Regions from separate parts of the Homo sapiens genome. Here regions 1, 3, 4, 5 and 6 are each linked to region 2. Evidence: promoter capture Hi-C in 16 types of primary human blood cells and fetal thymus (Javierre and others, 2016). All regions are on one chromosome and are shown on one strand. The core of a region is centred on a gene start or on the middle of the fragment in contact, and the rest is flanking DNA. Distances in the headings are between cores, read along the strand shown.

What was found. The method cuts DNA at HindIII sites, captures the fragments that hold promoters and counts their contacts. A CHiCAGO score of 5 or more calls a contact.
Region 1: a fragment that was not itself captured here is called in contact with the fragment with the promoter of LAS1L in region 2 in 1 of 17 cell types (monocytes); the score reaches 5.7 in monocytes.
Region 3: a fragment that was not itself captured here is called in contact with the fragment with the promoter of LAS1L in region 2 in 1 of 17 cell types (non-activated CD4 T cells); the score reaches 5.4 in non-activated CD4 T cells.
Region 4: a fragment that was not itself captured here is called in contact with the fragment with the promoter of LAS1L in region 2 in 4 of 17 cell types (monocytes, activated CD4 T cells, non-activated CD4 T cells and 1 more); the score reaches 5.9 in monocytes.
Region 5: a fragment that was not itself captured here is called in contact with the fragment with the promoter of LAS1L in region 2 in 1 of 17 cell types (fetal thymus); the score reaches 5.1 in fetal thymus.
Region 6: a contact is called between a fragment that was not itself captured here and the fragment with the promoter of LAS1L in region 2, in 2 of 17 cell types (activated CD4 T cells and non-activated CD4 T cells). The highest score is 5.6, in activated CD4 T cells.

Annotation. Positions count from the first base shown.
Region 1 is chrX:66,199,317-66,202,451 of GRCh38, forward strand. HEPH (hephaestin) reads left to right here. Exons shown (of 21, transcript NM_001367233.3): 12 at 1,224-1,436. Among named protein-coding and RNA genes, the nearest start is that of HEPH, 37 kb to the left of the region's middle. The HindIII fragment of the contact is 1,928 bases long and covers 573-2,500 here.
Region 2 is chrX:65,533,536-65,536,603 of GRCh38, forward strand. It overlaps LAS1L (LAS1 like ribosome biogenesis factor), which reads right to left and starts at 1,252. Exons shown (of 14, transcript NM_031206.7): 1 at 945-1,252; 2 at 75-200. The coding sequence starts at 1,180. RefSeq lists an enhancer at 1,347-1,526. The HindIII fragment of the contact is 19,270 bases long and covers 1-3,068 here.
Region 3 is chrX:66,414,680-66,417,736 of GRCh38, forward strand. No RefSeq gene overlaps it. Among named protein-coding and RNA genes, the nearest start is that of EDA2R, 220 kb to the right of the region's middle. The HindIII fragment of the contact is 2,394 bases long and covers 268-2,661 here.
Region 4 is chrX:66,098,706-66,101,523 of GRCh38, forward strand. No RefSeq gene overlaps it. Among named protein-coding and RNA genes, the nearest start is that of VSIG4, 60 kb to the left of the region's middle. The HindIII fragment of the contact is 600 bases long and covers 1,041-1,640 here.
Region 5 is chrX:64,978,866-64,981,685 of GRCh38, forward strand. It overlaps a transcript of ZC4H2 not described here. Among named protein-coding and RNA genes, the nearest start is that of ZC4H2, 3.8 kb to the left of the region's middle. The HindIII fragment of the contact is 167 bases long and covers 1,405-1,571 here.
Region 6 is chrX:66,080,810-66,083,838 of GRCh38, forward strand. No RefSeq gene overlaps it. Among named protein-coding and RNA genes, the nearest start is that of VSIG4, 42 kb to the left of the region's middle. The HindIII fragment of the contact is 862 bases long and covers 1,015-1,876 here.

The DNA.
Region 1 (3,135 bases), core at 287-2,786, 670 kb after region 2:
TCCAATCTTATCTCCCCTCTTCCTTATATTTTAGTACCTTGGGTCCCCCCCCCCCATACTCCAGCCAACTGGGGCTATTTTTCTTTGTGAACATGCTGATTTCATGCTTTTGCAGTGCTGTTCCCTTCACTTGAAATGCTCCATCTCTTGATTCCCATTACTAGTTAGTTTCATCATTTGGAAAAAGTAAAACCATCTCATGAGCAAAGTTCATTCCAGTTAGAATTTACTGAGCGCCTAATTGGTACTAGGTAATGTGCTAGGTGCTCAGGCAGTCACATAGATATAGAAAAAAAATGATATGCTTCCTGTTATGTCAATCCAGTGCAGGAAATAGATTTGTAAGTAAATCACCAGAAAGTATATCAGTTACAATCCATGGCAACTGATACTGCAGAATTTTGTGGGATAAAATTTTCATGGATCGAAGAGAGAGTAAAGTATAGCTGAACGAAGATACGACAGGTAAGTGGTAGGATGCCATAGAAAGAGACCATAAGGGAAGTTTATTCCAGAAAGAGGAAATCATGTGAAAAGTCAACAGGTATTATCAAAGCACCTACAATATTTAAAGCTTTGGTAATGCAGAGAAAAATAGAGCTCACAGGACAATGGTGTGTGTGTGTGTGTGTATGGAAGAGGATGGGAGGACAGACTGCAGGTAGGGGTACCAGAGAGGAGGCTATTTTAGTTCAGGCCAGGGAGGATGAGGGCCAGAACCAGGGCAGTAGCAGTGAAGATGAAGAGGAGGAAACAGGTTGAGAGCTGAAGATGGAATTTTCAGATCCCCAACACGTATGGGGGCGTGGAAAATGAGATCTATATGGAAAAGGAACAATCAGAGTGGTTGTAAAAGGACCAGAAAGTATGTTGCCACAGAAACCAAGGAAGGAGAGTTTCAAGAAATAGGGAATAGGAGAGATTGGTGTGTGTGTGTGTGTGTGTGTGTGTGTGTGTTTGGTAGTGGAGAATAGTTCAATGTTGTCAGGATGTGGATCATGGTGGAGGTGAGGCCAGAAAGGACAGTTGAGCACTCATCCCAAAGACAGAGATATTCACGAGTAGAGTTAAAGTGGCATAGAGAGGAAGGCAGAGGTGTTGAGGATGACTCAGCAGTTTCAAGTTGTGTGAAACCATAGTACATAGCTGATGCCATGCTCCTGGCCAGTGCTGGAGTAGTCTGGTCTCATCTCCCCACCTTGTCTTGTGTTTTTGTTTTCCAGCCATTAATGGGTTTCTGTTCTCTAACCTGCCCAGGCTGGACATGTGCAAGGGTGACACAGTGGCCTGGCACCTGCTCGGCCTGGGCACAGAGACTGATGTGCATGGAGTCATGTTCCAGGGCAACACTGTGCAGCTTCAGGGCATGAGGAAGGGTGCAGCTATGCTCTTTCCTCATACCTTTGTCATGGCCATCATGCAGCCTGACAACCTTGGTAAGTGCCTTAGCAGCTGGCCCTAGAGGCTTTGTTGGGTATAGGGCCAGGAATGGGGTCGGGAAGAGGGAGGGATGGTGAAGAGAAAATAATAGGCATGTTAAGGGTTCTAGGAAGTTTTTAAAAACACTTGTCTTTTTCTTCTTCAATGTGCTCTCCATGTTCTGGTTACTTGGATTCCCTACTCAGCTGCAGGCAGAATAGTTAGTAGAAGGTGGAGGAAGCTCTTTTCTGGAACAACAGAAGGGAAGTTGGGATGTTGCTCAGCTTTAGTGAAGTTCTTATATGGCAGGGAGTGGACTTGACAACACAGAGATTTTATAGGTACAGTACTTTTATTGGGAGGAAGGTCAATAAAATGCACTTATAAGTGCTATCAAATTGATATTCTGTGAGGCTTTCTACAGACTCATTTCTGATCTCTCCCTCTCTCTTTCTCTTTCTACCCATGATGCGCCCCACCCTCTGCCCCCTGCCACCCCGTGTGTGTGTTTGTGTGTGTGTGTGGTGATGTAACAATTTCAGCCTGGAAATCAGAACACAGGAGCCCTAGTTCAGGCTCTTTCATTAACTTGCTGCGTAACTTTGGTCTAATTACTTCCCTTCTCTCTAGCTAGATTTCCTGCCTTGATTCTTTCCTTTCTGCCTTCCTTCCTTCTGTCCTTTTGTCCTCCCTCCATCTCTCCTTCCCTCTATATCCTTTTTCTTCCTTTTATGAAGATATTTGACTATAATGTTTCTTCAGATTCTATGTATTTCTAGAATTTCATAATAGAGCAGTTATCTTTTCTTTAGTCCCTATGGTGTATTTTTTTTTCCAGCCATTAGATGGCAATAGTGTTTGTAAGAACAACCTGTCAGCTCCACGCAGTTCCTATTAAACTTTTGTTTTACTCCTGTAAATTTCATTCATATCTGGGGGGAAAAACATCCTTGAACAAGTGTCTTCAACGCTTTAATAATATTAACCTAGTCCTGAGTTTGACAAACACTTGACATAAAGCTGGTCTCCTCAGAAATAGAAAGGACAATTTGGAGGCTATTGCAGTTTTCTCTGTGAGAGAAGCTTGTGGCTTGGACTCGGGAAGTGGCAGTTTAAACGAAAAAATAATTTTGAAGGAATTGCTGATAGGATTTACTGATGCAATAGATAACGGTGGTAAGGGAAATAGAAGAAGTAGATGTGGAAAGAAATGAGTAGACCCTTTCTTTCAACGTGTTTATAAACTAGTAGAAGGGATCATTTTAAAAGAGAGGGGCACTTAGCCCTTTAACATGTGGTTTAGATATAAAGTGCATTAGAGGTGGAGAAGTGAAGAATGTAGAACTCTATTTGGGCCAAAATAGTCAGGGAGGGCTTTCTGGAAAAGAAACATGAATTGAGTCTTGGATAATGAGTGGACTCTCATAGATACTTGGGGGTGGGGTGGGCAGGTAAGTTCCAGAAAGAGGATAACAAAATGAATGAAGATTTCAAGGTAGGAATGAATGAGATGTGTGAGAGAAACAGTCAGAGTTCCATGTAGTTGGAGTGCTAGTTGAGTTTGAGACAATGTGTGGGAGGTGGAACTGGATTGGTAGTTTGGTGCCAACTCATAGAAGGCTTTGAAAGCCAGGAAGAAGAGTTTGTAGTGATGGGATAAGCACTGAGCAGCAAAGTAAGGAAACAATGAGAGTAATGTTCTAAGAAATTTAGCTT
Region 2 (3,068 bases), core at 2-2,501:
TTTTGCTTATCACATGCCTCCCCTGCCTCCAGTCCCCAAAGCCAACCTCCACCCCTACCCCATGCAGGTCTTACCTGACCAATGCCATGCCATAGAGCAGTCTAAGTTCATCAGTGCCCAAGCCACCAGTTACATCCAAGAGCTTACAGCGTATCAGGTCAGCAGTAGAAGCCACTGCCAGAGGGAGTTCGTTGCCTGACCTAAAGGGTCACAGTCCAGCACCATCATAAAGAGCCCTTACACTGGTCCACCCTCCACCTCAGAACCTAGGTTGTTGCAGGCTACACCCATCATATTCTGGTTCAAGAGAGCATGAACAGACACAAAACAAGAAGGTGGGAGGAGACACGGTAATGTCTGTGGGATCCAACAGTATACAGGGCATGAGGAGCTGACTAGGCCGTATACAGGACACCTAACTGGTAGACTGTCCATCAACAGTTGTGTGGACACACCCCTTTCTTTCACCCCCAAATCAACTCATTGAGCTAGAGGAGCCCCTTATCCCTTGTAAGTCGGCTCCCAACTCAATCTTACCAACTGGACTGAGGCGCCCCACTCAAACACTGTCTTGCAGGCAAGACTTCCTCCCCATTGGAATCGGAAATCTACCCTAGGGTACTAATCTACTCCTTAAGCCCTGGCTCAGGCCTCACTAGTCCCTCCGGCATCCTCTCCAAGTTGGGAGAAAGTCACTTTTTGGAGGTAATGGGTAAACCTCACAGATATAACAAGAGAATTGTTGAGGCACAACCCCTTACTTTCCATTCCGCTAACGGGATTAGCGCAAGAGATGGCTGCCGCGTTCCCCCAGGCATTTGGGAGAGGGACAACTTTAGGCGACTTAGGGGAAGACTGGAGAACAGGGCCTTATAGAAACTCGACAAAGGAAGAGGTGCAGCGCCACCAGCACGCAGGCAAAAGGGCCGAACCCGCCACCTTACCTGCTCCTCCACACCGTGATGCGGTTAAGCGCGTACCGCTGCAACTTATGGTCGTCACAGAACAGATAAACCGTCACCTGGTCCCACTCGGCCCTGCTGAGCCAGGCGACCACGATGCCGTGGGCCGAGAGTGGCAACGACCCTTTCCCTTTAACGCACTTTCCGTACCACGCACTCCACACGAGATCCATCCCCTGGGAACCTAGACCTGGCCCGGCCCCGGATTCCCACGACATACTGAGCTCAACAACAGGCTCTGTGCCGCGCCGCTCCGCACAGCCTTCAGCTCAGCGTGCTACCCTCACTCCGAACCGCCACCGCACCAGCAGCCAATAGGAGAGCGTGACCCCATACGCAAGCCCGCCTTCCAGCGTCAGCATGGCCAATCGGAACGTCAGAATTGGGCGCCGACCTAATGACATGCGGGGTTAAAAACTCACCGGCCGGAAGTGTTCTTTTCACAAAGCAAACCCTCCAGGGGCAAGAGTTCAGCCTCTAGGTTCCGCCAATTTCCTGGTTGCTAACCGGCTTCTGTACCAGACCGGAAGCGGTATGTCTTCACTGCAAGAGGAATTTTATTTTGCTCCCCTCGGCGGGTGGCAGCTTGATTGTAGTCATCCAGTGAACTGAAAATGCGATTTTAAGTATATTTTTATTGCCGTGAATCAGGACCTAACCTAGTAAAACACTGGACACTGAAGCAGGGCTACAGAGGAAATATCTCATATCGAAACAGTTACAGTTGGGTTGAAAAAATCTGCTTTTGTGGCAGGTAACCAGGGGCCCTGCCTTTTAAATTAGTACCAGCCTGGCCAGGCGTGGTGGCTCACGCCTGTAATCCCAGCACATTGGGAGGCCCAGGCGGGCGGATCACTTGAGGTCAGGAGTTCCAGACCAGCCTGGCCAAAATGGTGAAACCCGGTCTCTAGTAAAAATACAAAAATTAGCTAAGCATGGTTGCACATGCCTGTAATCCCAGTTACTCAGGAGGCTGAGGCACAAGAATCGCTTGAATCCGGGAGGCGGAGGCTGCAACAAGCCAAGATCGCACCAGTGCACTCCACCCTGGGTGACAGATCGAGACTCTGTCTCAAAAGTAAATTAAATAAATACATACATAAATAAATAAATAAATACCAGCCTAGAGACCTGAGTTTTACTCTAAATTTTGCCACTAACTATGTGGACTTAGACTAGTCTCAGTTTTCCCATCTGTACAGTGAGAGTTGTAGACTGGTCTCTAGGTTCTCTGTCATAGCAGAAAATTGTAGAATTTTACTCTGCCAACATTCCACTGCTATGTTGGTTTCAACATCCACCAAGGTATACTTAGTTTTTCTGCAAAATTCCTTGGTATTTTGGAGTTCTGGGAGAAAAGCGGTATTATGAAGTTCCTCCGATTTTACGAGTTGACTGAAATATGTTTAGGACTATGTCCCAATCCTTCTTGCAGAAGTTATTTTCCAATGTAACACTTGAGAGAGAGAGAGAGAGAACTGTTGCTAACGATCTTAACAGCATTGCTGTGAGTGGCACTTTTACGCTTCACAGCAACAAATCCCAATTCATCCTCTATATGTGCTTCTTTCTCCAGCCAACTTTTCCTAAGATATAGTCTGCCTATAGTTATTTTATTTTTCTTTTTTTCTTTTTCTTTTTTTTTTTGACATGGCGTCTGGCCCAGTCGCCCAGGCTGGAGTGCAGTGGCACAATTCTCGGCTCACTGCAACCTCTACCTCCAGGGTTCAAGTGATTCTCTTGCCTCAGCCTTCCAAGTAGCTGGGATTACAGGCGCCTGCCACTATGCTTGGCTAATTTTTGTATTGTTAGTAGAGACAGGGTTTCACCATGTTGGCCAGGCTGGTCTGGAACTCCTGACCTCAAGTGATCCACCAGCCCAGGCCTCCCAAAGTGCTAGGATTACAGGCATGAGCCACCGTGCCCGGCCTGCCTATGGTTCTTGACTGACAGTTACTCTGTCCCAAGTAGCCATGCCAACCAGTTGGCCAGGTGTCTGCCTGAAACCAGATACCCTTTTTCCTTCAGGATCATGACAGTGTGCTGGCAAAGAAGTCTGGGGAGTGGTTTCTATGACTCCTCAAGATACAGGCCAGTCAGAGGAGC
Region 3 (3,057 bases), core at 215-2,714, 880 kb after region 2:
AAGTTCGACTTTTTTAGATTCCACATATAAGTGAGATTATGCAGTATTTGTATTATGTGCCTGGCTTATTTCACTTAGCATAATGCCAGACAAGTTACTTAACTTCTATATGCTTCAGTTTCCTCATCTGTAATATGGAGATAATTGTTTTTATTACCTCCTAGATTGATACATATAAAGTACTTAAAATAGTGGCTGGCAACAGATAGGTACTATATAAGGACTAGCAGTTACTGTTGTTGTCTCAGCTCTGCTATAGTTGGCTGAAGCTTAGTAAGTCCTATCACCTCTTCTAGTCCTCCATACACAATTAGAAGTTTAAAATAGGCAGTATCTCTTCTATCTGTCTCTTCCCCAATCTATTCTCCATAAACAGGTGAATGGTTAAACTGTATTATACCAATATTACTCAGCAATAAAAAGGAATGAACTATAAATACACACAACTTGAATGGGGCTCAAAGACAATTATACTAAGTGAAAAAGTCAATCTCCAAAAATTGCTTACTGTATGATTCCATTTATAAGACATCCTCAGAATAACAAAATTGTAGTTATGAACAAATCAGTAGTTACCATTGGTTAGAGTTCTAAGAGGCTGTGATTATAAAGAAGTAGCACAGGGAATTTCTTTGTCATAATGAAAGAGTTTGATATTCTGATTGTTGTGGTGGTTACCTAAATCTATAAACATGATAAAAATTTCATAAGACTACACACAAATACACACAGAAATTGCATGTAAAAACTGATGAAATTTCATTAAGATGTGTAGTTTAGTTAATAGTATTAAGCCAATATCAGTTTCCTGGCTTTGATAATATACTATGACTATGCAAGTTGCTATCATCAGGGAAAATTAAACAAAGGATAAATGGGAACTCTCTGTAACAATTTGTAACTTTTATGAGTCTAAAATCCTTTCAAAATAAAAAATAGTGAATAAGAATGTCCTGAGGGTAAATGACACTGGATATTTTGCTTATGAAGCAGGAGTGAATGGCCTGGACCTCAGAGATAGTCCACTGGAGTTGGGGTCAGGAATATCTGGGGTAAAAATCCCAGCTCTGCTACTTTCTAGTTAAATGGTCTTGGACAAGTTGTTTGACTTCTAGACACTTTAGTTTATTCACCTGTGAAATGAGGATAATACTAGTTTCTTCCCTGGCTGCACTGAGATTTAAAGTACCCAGAGCATAGTGAGTGCTCAGTATCTGTTCCCTTTCCAGAACTTTCAAGTGTTTCAAAAAAAAAAGCTATTATTTAGGATTTAGGATTCCAAACTTTATTGGTTGATTCTGGGATTCACAGAAGAACAACTCAAAGAACAACTCAGGCAAAGACTTCAAAGTTTTAGAGCATTTTCATACATCAAATGTCTACCAGATGAAGAGAGTAGTAAGTCAGATTTGCACTTCAGGTATTTTACCACCCAGGATAAGGTGTAGATTTAAGAGAACTGGGCCTCCTCAGATCCTTGCATTTATGACAAGTTTTCTTCCCAAAAGACAGACACTGATGGTTTACTTCTTTGAATATTTTATGGTGGAATTTTGTTGCATTGACCTGACTTTTGGACATAGTGACAGCTTAGAAGGCATCTCGTGACAGACCCATCATTTGATAATTGAAGGTTTTGTATAGCATCTCTGGTGGAAAACCGTCTAGTATCTGTGATAAAACCTCATGCATTATTTACCAAGGCATCCAATTCCATCTCAGGAGAGCTCAGGCTATTGGAAAGTGCTCCTTTATCTGACACCTTGGAGCACTACAGAAGTCATGTGTTTCTTCTATCGGATAGAGGCCAGGTGCCCTTGAGTCCTTAATGAGCCCCAGATCTTCCATTTTACTTCATTCCTTTCTGACAAGCAGATCTCTATATCAAACGGTCGAATTGAATTTTCAATTAGGATATAACAAATCCTCCTCCATCTAAGCATTGTTCAACATGGTCTTGCTTCCCAAATCTGATTCTTTTATAGTCTTCTTCTCAGTGTAGATGGCTTTACCATCTACCTAGAGACCTGGAAGTCATTCTTGACATTTCCTTCTCCCTCACACACATACCCAATCTATTGCATCATCCTGTGAGTGACACCTGTCTCTGAAATATCTCTTTAATTTATTATTATTTCTAGAATATTTATAATAATATTATCTCCAATCTTACTGCCACAAGTCTATTCTCTCACTTAGACTTCTAAAATGACCTCTCATTAATTATATCTGAATTAATGCTTTTGAATTTGTTCTTTGCACTGCAGCATAAGTTATCTTCCCAAAACATGAATCTGATAATATCACCCACCCTTATCCTTTCTTAGAAACACTTTAAGAGCTTATTTCTTTTACTTTTAGTATGATGTTCAAAATCCTTACTATGACCTGAAGGCCCTGCATGGACTGGCCTGGCCTACCACTGCAGCTGTACCTTTGCTTTGTTTTTCCACATTTTCTGGGCTCCAGTTTTATTGCCCTTATTTCAATACCTTGAATATATCTTGCTGCAGGGCCTCTGAACATACTGCTGTATCTGGAACATTTTTTCCCATCCTTATAAACACATTTTCTTTACCTGGTGGTCTTCTGTTCTTTCTTCAAATTTTAATTTATGTGACTTGCTCAGAGAAGCCTTACCGGATATTCCTAACTAAAGAAAGCTTCACTTTTTAATACACATTCATAGCACCTGTACTTCCCAGCACTTATTCTACCTGTAATTTTACTTTCATGTGTGTGACTTTTAAAAATAATTTGTTTTTCCTGAAGTAAAATGTAAACTCAGTGAAGAAAAGAACCAAGTCTGTTTTGGTTCATGACTGATTCTATCTCCAGCAACAAGCACCATACCTGGCATATGTTAGGTATTTAAACATTTTTGGTAAGTACAATAGATTAAAATTGTGAAGAAGACAGGGCCTGTTAGGGGCTGGGGTGTTTACAATGATTTTGGGAGGCAAAATGTGTAAAGAAGGGAAAGGTGAAAGTATTTGTTAAAGAGTTATGCCAGTAGGAACCAGGAAATGGTAAGTAGCCAGGAATAATGGGTTGTGA
Region 4 (2,818 bases), core at 91-2,590, 570 kb after region 2:
TAGGGTAGATTCTGATATCCTCAATTTTAATTGTTGGCACCTAAAATGGAAACAGTACACTTGTATTGGTTAGAAATTTCACATACCGTCGGCTCTCCATTATGGGTACTAATGAAAGAGAAGAGGCATTATTAACCTAAAACAATAGACTAAATTTTACAAATGTACCTCTTTTATAGCACTAAGAAAAGAATGCCTCATAATAGTTATTACATACTTTCTCATCTCTCCTACTAATTTAAAAGAGGATTACAAATATAGTCTCTCCCATCCTTCCCCCCAATTCCCAGAACAATACCTTACATATAGTAGACCAACAATAAATGTTTACTTAATTAAGCATATATTTTTGAGTAAATTTTACACATTAAGAACTGTGAGGGGACTGCAAGGATTAATATGTCATAGTTTCTATCCCGAAATAATTGAAAATATCCTACAGTGAGAGAATATATATAATTACAGAAGATAGTAAAGAAATTAGATGTGACTTTTACAGGCAGGGAAGTGCATTATTTAGAAACAAACCTCATTCTGTTTAGACTTGACCTCTGACCTTTTCCCAGCTCTTCCCTTTTGGAAGTGATTATGAGTGGTGTTGGAGAGGAGGCTTTATCTCATGGGATAATCTACAGTGTGGTTAATTCTCAGAAACAATCCTAAGTATCCAAAGTAGGCTACAGTTTCATTTTATAGGCTAAGTAGGTTAGGAACATATTGAACTACGTGTTTCATAAAACGAAGCATCATGCTAGAGTTCTACAGTTAAATGCAGAATAATATCTGTAACAATGATGTAATTATTTCCACAGGTGGTGACTAAGCAGGCTTTAATGATTTGGACCTGCACTGCTTGAGTATGCCTATAAGATGCAATATTGTTACATTTAATAAATCTTTTAAAACGTCTTATTTTTTCAGAATCCCATGGTATAGGCAGAACAAAAATTTTCATTTAGTAAGTACAGATAAGTAACAACAATAAAACTTTAACAGAATAAAACAACACATCGCATTATCATATAATACTCTAACTTGAAAGCTTTACATTTTTCAACTACTGTAAGTAAGCCTAGGTTCTAGCTAGCAAATAACTATAGACTATAGGTACCTCAAATTTGAATGGGAAATGGAAATGGAAAATTCTAACTTGTTTTCATCTGCTGTAAATGTGTCTGTAGAATAAGCTCATCTGTCAAAGATCCCTCATGGAGTTAACATATCGGGAATGAAGGTTAGATATTTAGACATAAAAAGATGACTATATCTGAAAAGCAGTATGTAATAAATGACAAATGAATAGCACAGATAATAAATTTTATCAGCATTAAAAAGAGAGAGCAATCCCATTTGGAATGAACTAGATGTCTGTTTTGATTCTGTGATAATGAAATAATTGCCTGTAATCTGTTTAGGCCAGAGACCACTCCTTTATTTTGTAGAAGGCATATACCATTTCCCAAATATCAGTAAACAAATGGGCACAAAAGCTAACCAGCCAATGCAATACTAGAAAAAGCATTTGAAGTTTTTGTTTTCTTCTACAAGAAAATAGAAGAAAAATCTGGTATCTCCTTTAGTATGCTGATGGTCACTTGCACTTACTAATCGGATATGAAAATCATTGTTTCATATTTGGAAGCTTTAAACTCAAATTAAATATTGGTCAGTTCATATGTCTAAATATTATTCTCAGTGAGACCAACAAGATGAAGAGCTACGTAGACTCAGAGATGTCTGTACATGGCTCCTTTTTCAATGGGAATGGATAATGATTCATCTTAGTTACGTTTCTCCTTCTTCTTCTACCTCACATAATGAAGAAGGTTATTACAAGGTCACAACAACTAAAACAAAGACCATAATGCTTTTGTATTATGAAAAAAGTGCACTGTGAACCAAGTTTCGTCTATTCCAGTGGTTCTTCACTCTTTGGTCTTATGGCCCCTTAACACTCTTAAAACTTTTTAGGAACTCCAAAAACTGTGTTTATATGGGTTGTATCTATCAATATTTACAATATTAAAATTTAAAACTAATAAAAATTTTGAATACAAATTTCTTTAAAAATTATAATAATATGAACATTATATGTTAACATTAGAATTACATTATAAGACATTATGTATCCTTTGGAAAATTCTACTGTACTTATTAGAGAATGAAGAGTGATAAAAGGCTACTGATGTCTTGGTATTATTATAAAAATAATTCTGAACTCACATATCCCATGAAATGTCTTGAGACCCCCATGGGTTCACAAATCATGCTTTGAGAACCACTGATCTAATTTATATTCCAAATACTTCCGGTTTTGCTTTTTGTCTCTAACTTCCAATACATAGACATCATCTGAATATAAGGTTCATGCAAAATATCAACATACACAGACATCTCATAAGTGAAAAACTGTGTTACTATTGACTTATAAGCAGCTCTGGGGGTGGGCAGGCAGGTTCAGCAGATATTTTGCTTATTAAGAAAAATATCAAAATAAAGTTATGGCTTCATAACTATTCCTAGTCTCATATGCCTACATTTTTCTTTTTCTTTTTCTTTTTTCTTTTTTTTTTTTTGAGACAGAATCTCACTCTGTCGCCCAGGCTGGAGTGCAGTAGCACTATTTTGGCTCACTGCAAACTCTGCTTCCTGATTTTAAGTGATTCTTGAGCCTCAGCCTCCCAAGTAGCTGAGATTACAGGCATGTGCCACCAAGCCCAGCTAATTTTTGTATTTTTAGTAGAGATGAGATTTCGCCATGTTGTCCAGGCTGTTCCAGAACTCCTGGTCTCAAGTGATCCACCCGCCTTGGCCTCCC
Region 5 (2,820 bases), core at 238-2,737, 550 kb before region 2:
ATGTGTGGGAAGCAATTTATGAACAGCCTTTGAGATTTTAAATTTAATGTCTCTCTCTTTTTCCATTGTCCCCTTCACCTTAAGAATCCTTACCACTGACTATGTTCACACATCTGGTAAAAGTCTGGATGTGGGTATGTATCTGTTTCAATTAAATATGTTAATGGGTTTAGAGTCTGATTTGGTAATAATTTGGGAACTATCTTGTCTTTCAAGCCTCACCGAAATCCTAGTTTACAGATGAGGAAACTGAGACCAAGAGAGGCAAAGGACTTGTCTGACATCACCCTACTTGGCTGAAACAGAACCAAGACTCCTGACTCAAGGGCCTGTGCTCTTCCTATGGCCCCATGCGGCCTGTATCAAGCTGCTGCTGCTACCATGGGGCCTGAATGCCTCTGTTACTTTTCAGCCAGAAGGTGCACTCCAATATAGGGTGTCTGCAGAGGGCCAAGCATGTCCCATGCTTCCAACTATGGACATTTAAGGGAGATAGCAGTTAATCTAAGAGAAGAGGCCATGGGAAAACCTGGAGCTTGGAAGAAGGTTTGTGCTATTTGTAACAATTAAAATGTCCAAATACAGAAAGAGTAATGTGCCTCTTAGCTTCTGCTGGTTTGCTTTTGGCTCCTTGACCTCCTTGAGAACAGATGTCTCACCTGTTCCTTGCTGAATTTTAAGAATCCAGGCTAGCAGTGAGAGGAAGGAAAATGTTGTAGAGAAACAGTGGGGAAGAGAAGGAAACTATAGCCTTCTGCCCCTTCTTCTGAAGCAGCACTTAAAACAGTATCTGCAAGCCAAGGTGGTGGCTTTTCCATAGTAAGTGTTCAGTAGCTCTCAATTGATCAGAAGTTTGCAATGGCTGAAACAATATTTAAGATATGGGCTAGCAGTGAGTTCTAATGCATGATTTTATTAGAAGAACTGATTGATTTGAGGGGTTAGAAATAAAAAAAAATCTTAGTTTTATCAGGGCCAACATTATTCTTATTGCTAAGGCAATAAGGCAGGGTATGTTGGGGTTAATACCATTAAAATGCAAGAAATTAGCAAAAGGGAAGCCAGTCAGTCTCGATTATACTTTCAGGGAATAGATCAAGACTTTAAAAATGGAGGCCAGAATATTGAATTCACAGATATTTCTTTGTACTTCAACAGTGAACTAAACTAAAAGGAGGCAGAGATGCAACAACAGTCTTGGTTCCAAATTGCCTTTCAAAAAGTAGTGCAAATTACTTATTAAATTTCTCATTATATTTCTTAATCAGCATTTCTAAGAGAAAAGTGAGCCAAAAGTTTTCAGCCCAAAAATGTTTATTGTGCACCTATGATATGTCAGGAACCATCGAGGTTTCAGTGAAGATTTCATAGCAGATACGACAGACATGGGCCCTGCCCTTACCAAGCTTACCATTTAGTGAGAGAGACCAGCTATTACAAAGATCATGCATACATATATAGTTATACCTAGCAATCAGGGCTTGAAATAAGTCTAGGTTCTGTGAGCAAGACACACACACATAAGGGGAGAACCAATTTAGTCCTGAGAAGTGGGCAAGGAGTCAGGGAAAAGCTTCCTGAACAAAACTAGGCAGGATGAGAGAGGAAGGGAGGGAAACAGCAGGAGGTATCGAGGATTAATTCATGCAAACAGCCAACAAATATTTACTGAACACTTACTACATGCCAGGCACTCTCCTAGGTTCCAGGGATATATAGTGCTTTGCATGTATTAAGTTAGTTTAATCCTTGCAAAAACTTCACAGGAAGTATATATTATTATCATCCTTATTTTACAGAAGAGGAAGTTGAGGCACAGAGAAGTTAAGTAACTTGCCCAGAGTAACACAGCTAGTAAGTGGCAGAACTGAGATTCAAATTTAGAGAGTCTGCCTCCAGAAGCCATGCTCTCACCTACTATGTTCTATTAGTTACCCAAGATCCCAGTTCTTAGGAAGTTTACATTCTAGTAGGAGGAGCCAGACAATAATGACAGAAAAGAAAAAAAAATAAACATAATAATATTTGGGGGAGATAAGCCCATAAGACACTAATTGAGGATAATAGGACAGAATGATGGCAGGAGGGGGAATGTTTTAGTTAGGATGGTCAGGGAAGGCTCCTGTTCAGAGATGACATTGTAGTGGAGACATAAGGAGTTGGGCATACAATGATCTGGAGGAAGAGTGCTCCAGGCAGAACGAATAGCCGGTGCAATGGTCCTGAGTCAGAAAATGCTTAGCCTATGAAAAAAAAAAGTAGGTAGGGCTCTGGCTGATTAAGGGGAGCAGAAGTAGACTGAGGAGACAGTTTATGTCATTGAACTGTTATTCTAAAAACAGGGTCTTGTAAACCATGGTGATGAGTCTGGGTTTTATTCTAATTACAATAGGCAAACATTGAGGGTTTTAAGCAGGGGAGCAACATGATCTAGTTTTTAAACATCACTGACTGCTGTGAGAACAGATTTTATTGGGGCAAAAGTGGAAGTAGGAAAACCAGTGGGAAAACTATTACAGTTGTCCAGGAAAGAAATTATGGTGGCTTGAATTACAGTAGTAATAGTAGATATGAAGAAAAATGGGCTGATTGGGAACATATTATTGGGCACAGAACTGATATGATTAGCTCATGGATAGGATGGAGAGGTACGGAGGGCGAGATAAGGCATCTAAAATGACTCCTGGATTTTTGGCTTCAGTAATAAGGTCAGTGCCATTCACTGAAACAGGAAAGACTGGAAGAGAACCGTACGATGTTAGAGCTAGAAGGCACTCACATGTGATATATGGAAAAACTGAAGAACAGAAATGGTAATTG
Region 6 (3,029 bases), core at 196-2,695, 550 kb after region 2:
CATGTACCCTAAAACTTAAAGTATAATAAAATAAATAAATAAATAAATTTTCGTTTTCAATAGGATAATTAATTTAGATAACCACATTTTTCCACATTCTTTTTGAATTTATATTTTAGAAAACTGTCAAACACATGTAACTGGACAGCTTCTCTAACAGTTGAATTGTTAATTTAGATTCTAAGATTTAATGTGTAGTTGTTTAATTATCATTTATTACTGTAGTTTACAATAATCTATTGTGTATTTCTTTTATATTTTCCAGATACAGGGTCTTGCTCTGTAGCTCAGGCTGGAGTGCAATGGTACAATCATGGCTCACTGTATCCTCAACCTCCCAGGTTTAAGCGATCCTCCTACGTCAGCATCCTGAGTATCTGGGACCACAGGTACTCCGTGTCTGGCTAATTAAAGAAAAAATGTTTTGTAGAGTTGGGGGTTCACCTATGTTTCCTGGGCTGGTCTCAAATTCCTGGGCTCAGGTTATTCACTCACCTCAGCCTCCCAAAGCTCTGGGAGTACTTACAATTGTGAGCCACTGTACCTGGCCTTGTGTATCTCAAAATACCTGGAAGAGGCTGAGGTGGGTTGGTCACGCCTGTACTCCCAGCTACTTGAGAAGCAGAGGTGGGAGGATCACTTGAGCCCAGGAGTTTGAGTCTAGAGTGAGCTATGATCATGCCACTGCACTTCAGCCTGGGTGACAGAATGAGACCCTGTCTCAAAAAAAAAAAAAAAATTCTGTCTAAGAATGACAATAAAAAATACATAGAAGAGAATAATTCAAATGTTCTTAGCATAAAGAAAACTATTTAAAATAATGGATATCCCAATTACACTGATTTGATCTTTACAAGTTATATGAGTTTATTAAATTACCACAGGTACTCCAAAAATATATACCTCTATGATGTATCAATAAAAATAAAATTAAAAAACAAATAACACTTATTACAACATTCTAGATGTCATGAAGTCTGAGATCCTCAAACTTCTTTCTGGTGTCTTTAGGAAAGCTTTTCTGGTGCACTGTTTTTCAGATGTGCCTATTGCTAGCATTCTGCACCTCTGTTCAGTTGATGGATGTGATGAAGACAACACATGTATGCCACTCTTCTGGGCCAACACCCAGGTAGATGGCGTTTATGCTGTTGGCTTTAGCAGCCAATACCTGTAAACATTTAATTCATGAACAGAAGTTTACCATTCATACCTCCTTCTCCAATAATATGTCCTTCCCATTGTCTTGCTTCTTAAACACCTCAGCTCCCAGATACAATTGATTTAATGGCTTAGTTCTCTTTATAGTACCCAGGCTTTAGGATATCCCTGCTTACATCTGTAATTACCATTCCCTCAAACACATTAACTCTCCCAAAAGATTCTAGCTCTTCAGGTTTCCTCTTTATACCCTCAAAATATATTTCAGAATATTCTGCCTCCTAAATGATCTTCCACTGGAAGTCTTCTCCAGCCATTTCCTTCTCAGATTTCCTCTTCTAAAACTTCCACCTCCCTGACCAGACTTAATGATTCTTCACTTGGCCCTTCCTTCTACCCAAATAGGCATCACTGAGACATAGACGTCTAAACAGGTAACTCTCCTCAGAAGATACCCAAATATCTGCCATCCATAAAATACACTTGAAAATGATATACATGTTTATTCTCCTATTTCCTTTAACAATTATAGAAAATCTCAAATTTGCAGACCAACGTTTTTCCCCAAATAGTTACTCTATATTTCTTATTACATTTATAGTATTTGCTAATTTAAACTTTTGTTGTTTGGGGGAAAGGAATTTTCACTAGAATTTTAACTAGTCATTGTTTATTGCAAAAGTGTTAATTTTATACATATATTTTATATTAAGTAAGCTTTGTTTCAATATCTTATTTCTTCAATCATCATACTACTGAATATATTTTTAATGGGCTGGTTGTCATCGTTCTATTCTTTAGCCACAAAATAACAGGTCAGACTAGTTATTTTGCAAGTGTGTTTTGGTGGTCATAAAGGGAACTGAACAAGAATATAGAGAGCAGTAGCATTGCCACCACTAAGAAAAAAACTCAAATGCATAATATACTGGCAGAGTACCAATAAATTTATTTTTGTAATTGAAGGAAAGCATTATTTGTTTAGTTAAAAATAAGACATGCCCTCACATTTTAACATAGCTGTAACCCCTATTAAATTACCAACACATTGCCGACAAGACTGCTTACCCATCGTCTCCATCTTCTGGGTTCATAGATGAAACTAAGTTTTTGGATTCATCTTTCAAATAGGTAAGACACTGTCAAGGAGACTTTCATTTTTGTCTTCAACAAGTGCATGATCATTTTTAAATATTTCCATCTAAATAGGAGTGTTAGAGGAAATGATACTTGATTATGTACCTGTTCATACATCTGGTCTTTCTCAGATCATATTTGATGTGATTCCTATTGAGAATATTTAACAATGGTATGAGAAATAATAGCAACAAGCATGGTAAATTTTTTTTTTACCCATCCTCCACCATATTATCTCAGAATGTTACAGCATCTCCTCCGCTGGAATATGGAAATATTGATGAGCACATTTGAAAGCTGAAGCCCCAGATGTGACTGGTAATGACCTGCAATGAGACACACATTTTATTGTCATTAGCTACCTGAGTGTTGCAATGGCCAAAAAACTTTGTTGTAAAAAACAAAACCAAATTTAATTATCCTTTGTCAGAAAGGTTTTCACTAAACATAAATATTTTAGGAGCTCAACATCAAAGTGGAAAAAGAAAAAGACCCAGTGCATTTAAATGGGAGGTTTAGAAGAATTAGTGACAAGTTGGAATTGTCCCTATGTTTTAGCTTCTGAGTATCTACATTAAGACATTCTAAAAGCTTGGTGTTTCAAGTATACACTGGGTCAGATAAAACTGAAGAGCAAATGGGAAAACCAACCTCTTGGGAATAATGCCTGATTCCAGGGCTGGGCAGGCAAAGTACAAATTGAGCCTGAAACATCCTATTATGACAAAAGT